Regions from separate parts of the Homo sapiens genome. Here region 1 is linked to region 2. The links are contacts of gene promoters, found by promoter capture Hi-C in blood cells and fetal thymus (Javierre and others, 2016). All regions are on one chromosome and are shown on one strand. Each heading gives the region's core, a stretch centred on a gene start or on the middle of the fragment in contact. The rest is flanking DNA. Distances are from core to core; before and after follow the strand shown.

Region 1 (4,185 bases), core at 734-3,233, 270 kb before region 2:
GCCAGGCTGGTCTTGAACTCCTGACCTCAGGTGATCCACCCACCTCGGCCTCCCAAAGTGCTGGAATTACAGGCGTGAGCCACTGTGCCTTGCCAATGTAAAGCATTTAGTGCAATGCCTGGCACACACGTTAGGAAGCAGCAAATGTTGATTATCCTCTTCCTCCCCAGCCTGTTCCACACAAGCAGTCTCCCCAGCCAGGGAGGAGTCCAAGGCCACTCCCACCCTGCCATGTCAGACCTCAAATCGAGCCCAGTCCCAAGAGGTATTGTAGTGGGTAGGTCGCTGCAGGTGCCCAAACTGGATCTCATAGGTGGCCTGGGAACTCCGCACGCGAGCAGGGAACTCCACCTTCAGGAACTTGTGGGCCTCATGCCAGTGTACCTGGGAGTGGGAAGGAGGGTGGGAGTCAGGGAAGGAAGAGACACACCAAGGCCTGGGGCTGGCCCCTCCTTACCAAGCACACTTGGGGAAAACAGCCACCCCCTACCCCCCGACTACCTCGGTGTGGAAGCGGACATAGGGGCAGCCAACGTCCAGCACAACCTCCTGGCTAAGCCGACTGTTGGGGCTGATCTGTAGCAAGAACCAGGCGCTGCCCCGCAGGCCGCCCTCGGTGCCCACTGCCAGGGTCCCTGCCTGGCCCAGCACAGGCTTCCTATGGGACAGGGGTGGACATACTGATCCAGAGCAGCCTGTGTTCCCACCACCTCCACCATCCCCACATGCTGCCCAGCCTATACCGTGTCTCCAGGTGGTAGTCCATGACGTCCCATGCATCCCAGTACAAGGGGACATCATCAAATAGCACAAACTGGTTCCCCACGGCGCCCTCAGCAATGGCCTCCCTGGAAGGACATGGGATTGGTGCTGTACAACCAACTGACCTCGCTGTCTCCAGCTGCTCTTGGTGGGGTAGGGTGGAGTGAGTAGACCCAGTGGACAGGGGACTACTGCCCAGCCTGCCCTGCTCCATGTGTGGGTTCCAGCCCAGAGCCACTGGTGGGCTGCTGTGGGCAGTGTTGTGGCAAGGGGAGAGAGGAAATGGCCTGGGGTCTACTTGCCAGGCACTGGGAAAGGGCAATGAGGATTTGGCACCTGCCAGAGGCCACCAGGACCAAGGACGTCAGGCGACCAGTTGGGTCCAGCTTCACTCGGATGATGCCATTGTCCAGAGTCACGGAGCCATCAGTCTTTGTGGGAGGAGGCCTTGAGGCTGAGTCTGTAGGGGCTTCCCACACCAAAAGTCTTCCCACCCCAACCCCAGCCCCGCCTCACCACTTGCTCCAGACAGGGGAGCTCAGGACCCTCAGTTGTAAGAAAGTATCCCAGCACAGTTCCTGCCCCCCAGGGCATGCAGGACTCACCTCTTGCACTACGAACACAGGCTGCTGGGGCAGCAGGGGCTGCAGTGAGGTGGGGGGAGGAACAGGAGCATAGCCCATGCTGGGCACTGTCACCAGGGCTGGGGGTGAGGCCTGGGCATCAGTGCAGCCTTCCTGACCTTTCAGGAAGCTTGCGCAGGTGGGGATGGGTTGGTGGAAGATGTGCTACTACTCTCCAGTCAGGGGCACCCAGATCCCTCGGGGTATCCCAGGCCTGATCTGTCTGGCCTCCATCCTTCCTGCTGCAGTAGCAACCCTTCCCCTCAGCTCGTACCTAGGCTGTGGGCCCCGCCCGGTTTGGGCAGGGCCATCACTTCGATCCGCTTCCAGGGCAGTGTGTTGACGATGAGGAGGCCCTCAGGACCTGGCTCCCCAGCACACAGGGCTGCGGCTGCAGCGCTGAGCAGTGTATTGCCATGGGAACGGATGTCTGAGGAAAGACTGGCTGGTCATAGGTGGGCAACAGGTCTGGAATGTGCCCATGGGTATCCCACAGGGGACACTCTGGGCTCAGCCCTGGGGTTGGAGAGAGCAGGCAGGACTATTGTGAGCCTAACCTTCATAATGGCACATGGCTTCCTCTGCCACCATCTGGATGCAGCTTCCAGTCACCACATCATGGAACTGGTTCAGAAGAAGGAGCCTGCAGGGGCCAAGGGCAGGGATGGGAAGGCTGGGAGGGGCAGGCACAGAGGTAACTGCAGTGAGCAGTCAGGTGGATGGCAGGGACAGAACTGGGCTGACCTCCAGAGGTGCTGCAGCTGGGCTGCTGGGTATAGGAACTGGGCACTGCGGGCCAGGGCCAGGCTACTGAGCAGCTCCACGTCGTGCAGGATCCGCTCACATTCCCGGTTCCCCTTCTTGATCTGAGCCCAGGATGGGAAGATTAGTCTGGAGCCTGCTTAGCTGTCCCAGGACACCTTCCAAAGCCCTCCCTTGCTCAGAATCCCTGAGGACTCACCAAGGGCCTCGTGGAGAAGGCCTCTGGCGGGTGACCTGCCTTAAATGCCTTCCCTCTTCTCCCCGCAGCCCAAACCCTTCTTTCTTCAGGGGTTTCTGCCTCCTTCAAGCTTTCTTGACCAACCCAGGTCTTGAACTTCTCTCCTCCAAACTTCTCTTCCCCTAGATCTGGCCTGGGCTCTGTCCCCTGCTGCCTTCTCTGACCCTCTGCAGATCAAGGGCACACCCTCCCTGCACAGCCCTGCAACCTCCCCCTGACCTGGGCATGGGTGGTGTATGTGCCATTGTGCAGCTCCAAGAAGAGCTCCCCAACCCACGTGCACAGCTGCTCTGAGTCACTCTCCAGTGCTGAGAAGAGCTGTCTTGGAGAAGATAGCTGCACCCTGAGGAGACCACAAGCCTAGGTCTCCCAGCCTTGGAGACCACATGGCTCACCCTTCTTCCACACCAAAGCAAAGGATCCAGCTCCTACAGAGAGGAGCCACTCCAGAAAGCTCCCCGTTCACAGATGGCCAGCCCTGGACGCCCTAGGAGAGCCTCTCTCTCTGATGGGCTGGAGCCCTTACCAGCTTCAGCTTCTCCCCCACCCACCCCCAGGGTGGAAGTTTGGAGGAACCCGTGGTCTAGGATTGGGACAGGACAAGGTCCAGAGGAGGGGTTGGGCCCAATGTCTGAGGGAAGGCAGGGCTCATGGCAAGGGCCCAGGGTGGGGCTAAAGGAGAGCCAAGGCCTGGCCTGACCTGGGCAGCCCATCCGTATTGCTCAGGCGCTTCAGGCGGTCCAGCATGGTCTGGGTGGGGCCACCACCCCCATCCCCAAAGCCAAAGAGGAAGGCACTGTGGTTGGCCCGCCCCTTGTCCCGGTTGTTGGCCACGGTCTTCAGCACCTAGACAGGTGAGGGCAGGCCAGCATGGATCAGCCTGGAACAAGCCAGCCCTCTCCAGCCTGCCCCTACCCCACCACCCTAGGTGACCCCTCACCTCCTCCACGCTGCCCTGCATCCCATAGGAGTCGCCAGGTGGGAAGTGGACCAGTACACGGGAGCCATCCAGGCCCTCCCAGAAAAATGTATGGTGCTACCAGCAGGGAAACAGAAGCAGGGCAGAGAGGCCAGAGTCAGGGCTGAGGCAGAGCCAGGCCTTCCAGACTTGGTCCTGCCCCTGCCTGCTATGTGACCCTGGCAGAGGCAGAGTGAGGGTTTGGTGGTCTGTCTAGGACCCCACAATAAGGGGGAGAGGCAAATGGGCCAGGCGGGACTGAGGCCCACTCTGACCCTGACCCCCCGGGGGCCTGCTTACTGGGAAGGAGTTCACCAAATTCCAGCTCAATTTCTGGGTGAGAAAGCGCCTGATGCCACAGCCGTGCATGATCTGGGGGAGCTGTGCTGAGTAGCCAAAGGTGTCCGGCAGCCAGAACTGTGGAGAAAGAGGATCCTGGAGTGCAGGAACCAGAGCTCCAGGCGGACTCACCCCAGCCTCAGCCCCTCAGCACTCCAAGTCGAGCGCCAGCCCCACTCGCCCACAGCCTGGTGTAGCAGCTCTCAGCCTACCTCAGAGCACATCTTCCCAAACTCCTGCAGAAAGAAGTTCTGGCCCTGCAAAAACTGCCTCACCATGGCCTCTCCACTGGGCAGGTTCCCATCCTGGCAGTGAAGGAAGTGGGAGGCAGCCCAGGTCAGCGCTGGACGGGGAGCAGGCAGGCGCTCAGGCCAACCCAATCCCTGCAGGAGAAGCCAGGGCTGCTCAAACATGGGAGTTACAGCCAGAACTCAGGAAGGGCCCCTGTCCTTCAGGCCTGACTGTCCATCTGCCTGAGGGGGTGCCCAGGACTAGGCCATGCA
Region 2 (3,915 bases), core at 1,389-3,888:
CTCTCCAGAACTCCTTTTATCTTGAATAACTGAACCTCTGTAACCTTTAAACATAAAAGAAACTTTTTTTTTTTTGAGACAGAGTTTCACTCTTGTTGCCCAGGCTGGAGCACAATGGCACGATCTTGGCTCACCACAACCTCCGCCTCCCAGGTTCAAGTGATTCTCCTGCCTCAGCCTCCCGCGTAGCTGGGATTACAGGCGCCCGCCACCACGCCCGGCTAATTTTGTTTTTGTATTTTTTAGTAGAGACGGGGTTTCACCGTGTTAGCCAGGATGGTCTCGATCTCCCGACCTCCTGATCTGCCCACCTTGGCCTCCCAAAGTGCTGGGATTACAGGTGTGAGCCACCACGCCCGGCCTTTTTTTTTTTTTTGAGACAGGGTCTCACTTTGTCTCCCAGGCTGGACTACAGTGGTGTGATCTCGGCTCACTGCAGCCTCCACCTCCTGGGTTCAAGTAACTCTCCTGCCTCAGCCTCCTGAGTAGCTGGGATTATAGACATGCACCACCATGCTCGGCTAATTTTTGTATTTTTAGTAGAGAAGAGGTTTCATTATGTTGGCGTGGCTGGTCTGAAACTCCTGACCTGAAGTGATCTGCCTGCCTCAGCCTCCCAAAGTGCTGGAATTACAAGCATGAGCCACTGCACCCGGCTTGAGGTGTGCCTTAATATCTTTGCAATGCAACCAAGGGTTGCCATTCCTGAGTGACTGAGGCCTCATGATGAGTGCTTGGGATCCATATGGTATGTTATTCAAATCATCCATAATGGTATGTATGCTATTGTCTCTACTTTTCTGTACTTTTGTGTAAGTTTGAAAGCTTTCATGATAAAATTTTTTTTTTTTTTTTTTTTGAGACGGAGTCTCGCTCTGTCGCCCAGGCTGGAGTGCAGTGGCGGGATCTCGGCTCACTGCAAGCTCCGCCTCCCGGGTTCACGCCATTCTCCTGCCTCAGCCTCCCAAGTAGCTGGGACTACAGGCGCCCGCCACTACGCCCGGCTAATTTTTTGTATTTTCAGTAGAGACGGGGTTTCACCGTTTTAGCCGGGATGGTCTCGATCTCCTGACCTCGTGATCCGCCCGCCTCGGCCTCCCAAAGTGCTGGGATTACAGGCGTGAGCCACCGCGCCCGGCCGATAAAAATTTTTAAAAAGTCATTATGTTTTCAGTTCATCACCAAAGTAATGACCAAATCCAAAGCACCTTTATTAGGCCTATCATGCACTATCTTGGTGTGGGCTCCCGCTCTGCCAAGAACCACACAACCTTTGAAACTGATGTCCTGGGCCTGGCGCGGTGGCTCACGCCTGTAATCCCAGCACTTTGGGAGGTTGAAGCGGGCAGATCACCTGAGGTTAGGAGATCGAGACCATCCTGGCTAACACAGTGAAACCCCGTCTCTACTAAAAAAAAAAAAAAAAATACAAAAAAATTAGCCAGGCATGGTGACGGGCGCCTGTAGTCCCAGATGCTCGGGAGGCTGAGGCAGGAGAATGGCTTGAACCCGTAAGGCGGAGCTTGCAGTGAGTCGAGATCGTGCCACTGCACTCCAGCCTGGACTTCGTCTCAAAAAGAAAAAAAAAAGAAAAACTGATGTCCTGGATACTGGGGCGGTTCCTTTACCTTCCTTCAAGGCTGTTCTTGGCGGGTTCCTGCTGTTTCGTTTTGTTTTTTCTTTGTTGTTGTTGTTTTTTTTTTGAGACAGAGTTTCGCTCTTGTTGCCCAGGCTGGAGTGCAGTGGCATGATCTCGGCTCACTGCAACCTCCATCTCCCGGATTCAAGCGATTCTCCTGCCTCAGCCTCCCGAGTAGCTGGGATTACAGGCACGCGCCACAACGCCCGGCTAATTTTTTTTGTATTTTTAGTACAGATGGGGTTTCACCATGTTGGTCAGGCTGGTCTCAAACTCCTGACCTCAGGTGATCCGCCCACCTCGGCCTCCCAAAGTGCTGGGATTACAGGCGTGAGCCACTGCGCCCCGCCGGGCTCCTGCTGTTTCAACCCATTCCTTGGATGGTGCTGCCTCCAAGTGTTCGGACCTTAGCCCCAGGTGGTCTTAGCACCAGTAACCCCCGCTCCAACTCCCTAAAGTCCGACCCGCCCCAGGCCCCGCCCACGCTCCACCCTCCCTCCCTGTCTAGCCCCCTCCCCCATCCCCTTCCCCCTCCTTCGCGTCTCCCCATCCGGCGCCCCCGCCTCGCGTCCCCTGGGTCCGCATCCTGGCAGCCTCCGCGTTTCCCTACCCCTGCTACCGGGCTCCAGCCCCGGGGACGCTATCTGCTTCACTCGGCCGTGCGCGCCGCCACCGCCCCGCACTGCCTTTTTCTAGGCATGGGGTCATCTAGGCCATGCATGATTCGCCCCTGCCCCACAGAAGTCCCTGAGGGGTCCTGGCCGGACAGCACGGAATAGAAGAACGGAAACTCTCCCAAAAGGAGTCCCAGGCCTGGCTCTATCCCTCCAGATGACGTCCCAGGAGGCCAGAGTGCAGGGCCGGCCAGAGGGAGTCACAGTCCGGCACCGAGAGGCAACTCGGCAGCTGGCGGGGCCCGGGCTCGAACCCAGGGACTCACCCAAACCGAGGTGACCGTCGCACGCGCCGCCGCCACCGGGGCCGACGAATCACCTGCCCTGGGAAGCTAGGTCCGCCCTCCCCCCGCCCCCAGCTGCTGCCTCACCGCTGGGCCCACAGGCCTCGCGCCCTGAGTTTCCGGCTCCTCCCTCCTTTGCGAACGCTGGGAGTTCCGTTGCCTACAGGCCGTTATTTCCGCCTTCAACGGCTGGGGCATTTCCCATCGGCTAGGGAGGGGGTCTTCTTGCATTTGCTTTGCACTGTCCGGGACTCTTCCTGCTAGATGACTTGACCAGGCCGAGGCCTCCCTCCTGAACACAAGCTCTTCGGGGCTCCTTTCGCCAATGGGAGGAGGCTGATCTTGTGGCCGGGCATTCAACGCCCTGGGCCCTGCCGCCTCCCGCAGATCTTCCCGGGCCTTAGGGCTTCACCTGGAGTCCCCTTCCCCTCTTGGGCCCGTGCTCTTAAACGGGCAGTGCCAATTGCCTGGATTACTCCAACTAACCCCTCACACCCAAGTTTCAGACACAGACCTTCGCTCCCCCACTTGCCCTTAACAAAAGCAGATACATACCTCGATTACTGCCTGTTTGCTGCTTTTGCGAGCTTCTTTCCCACTCGGCTGCGGGCTGAGCAATGGTAGGGACCTGGCTTGATTCCTATTTAAGTAGCCAGAGTCCAGCACAAGGGATGGCGCTCAGTAGACCCTGCGTGAAGGAATGATTAAATTGGTGCAAAAGACTAGGGTAAGCGGCAGAGATTTAGGAGATTAAGTCCTGCCAGGGTGTAGCCTCTGCAGGGCGGGAAGGCTGAGATTACAATTTTAAAACTGAATATTTATTGAATGCTTACATTCAGCCAATCCCTGCTTCACACCCATCATCTCATTTAATTTTTTTCCTTTTTTTTCTTTTTTAAGCCAGTAGATATTAACTCTTAATCATGACATGAGGAAGTAGACACACTGAAGCTCAGAGAGGTTAAGTAATTTGGCCAAAGTAACACAGCTTTCAAGGAAAATGTTTGAATTTGCTGAAAGTTTGATGTATAGGGAAGTTGACTACCGATGTATGACAGAAGCAAAGTATCCACCTTTGGCACATTTTGCGTCCACGGAATGCTAAAATTTGGACTTGTGTATTTTATGCACATTACACCATACATTCAGACTAAAAAGAATAGGAAATTAGGCTGATGAAAGGCTATTACTAGACTGGTAAAAAGGGTTCTGGGGCCCTGGAAGGCCAATTTTTCTGGACGTGAGATTTTTTTTTATTTTTTTGAGATGGAGTCTCGCTCTGTCGCCCAGGCTCTGGAGTGCAGTGGCGCAATCTCCG

The links. The method cuts DNA at HindIII sites, captures the fragments that hold promoters and counts their contacts. A CHiCAGO score of 5 or more calls a contact.
Region 1: a contact is called between a fragment that was not itself captured here and the fragment with the promoter of SNUPN in region 2, in 3 of 17 cell types (erythroblasts, fetal thymus and endothelial precursors). The highest score is 7.0, in erythroblasts.

Annotation. Positions count from the first base shown.
Region 1 is chr15:75,357,961-75,362,145 of GRCh38, forward strand. It overlaps MAN2C1 (mannosidase alpha class 2C member 1), which reads right to left. Exons shown (of 26, transcript NM_006715.4): 9 at 3,895-3,987; 10 at 3,644-3,760; 11 at 3,326-3,421; 12 at 3,086-3,231; 13 at 2,605-2,728; 14 at 2,130-2,251; 15 at 1,943-2,028; 16 at 1,660-1,815; 17 at 1,368-1,465; 18 at 1,099-1,193; 19 at 744-848; 20 at 502-658; 21 at 241-384. Among named protein-coding and RNA genes, the nearest start is that of MIR631, 6.4 kb to the left of the region's middle. The HindIII fragment of the contact is 940 bases long and covers 1,514-2,453 here.
Region 2 is chr15:75,623,087-75,627,001 of GRCh38, forward strand. It overlaps SNUPN (snurportin 1), which reads right to left and starts at 2,639. Exons shown (of 9, transcript NM_005701.4): 1 at 2,580-2,639. RefSeq lists a silencer at 2,118-2,167 and an enhancer at 2,818-3,007. The HindIII fragment of the contact is 10,585 bases long and covers 824-3,915 here.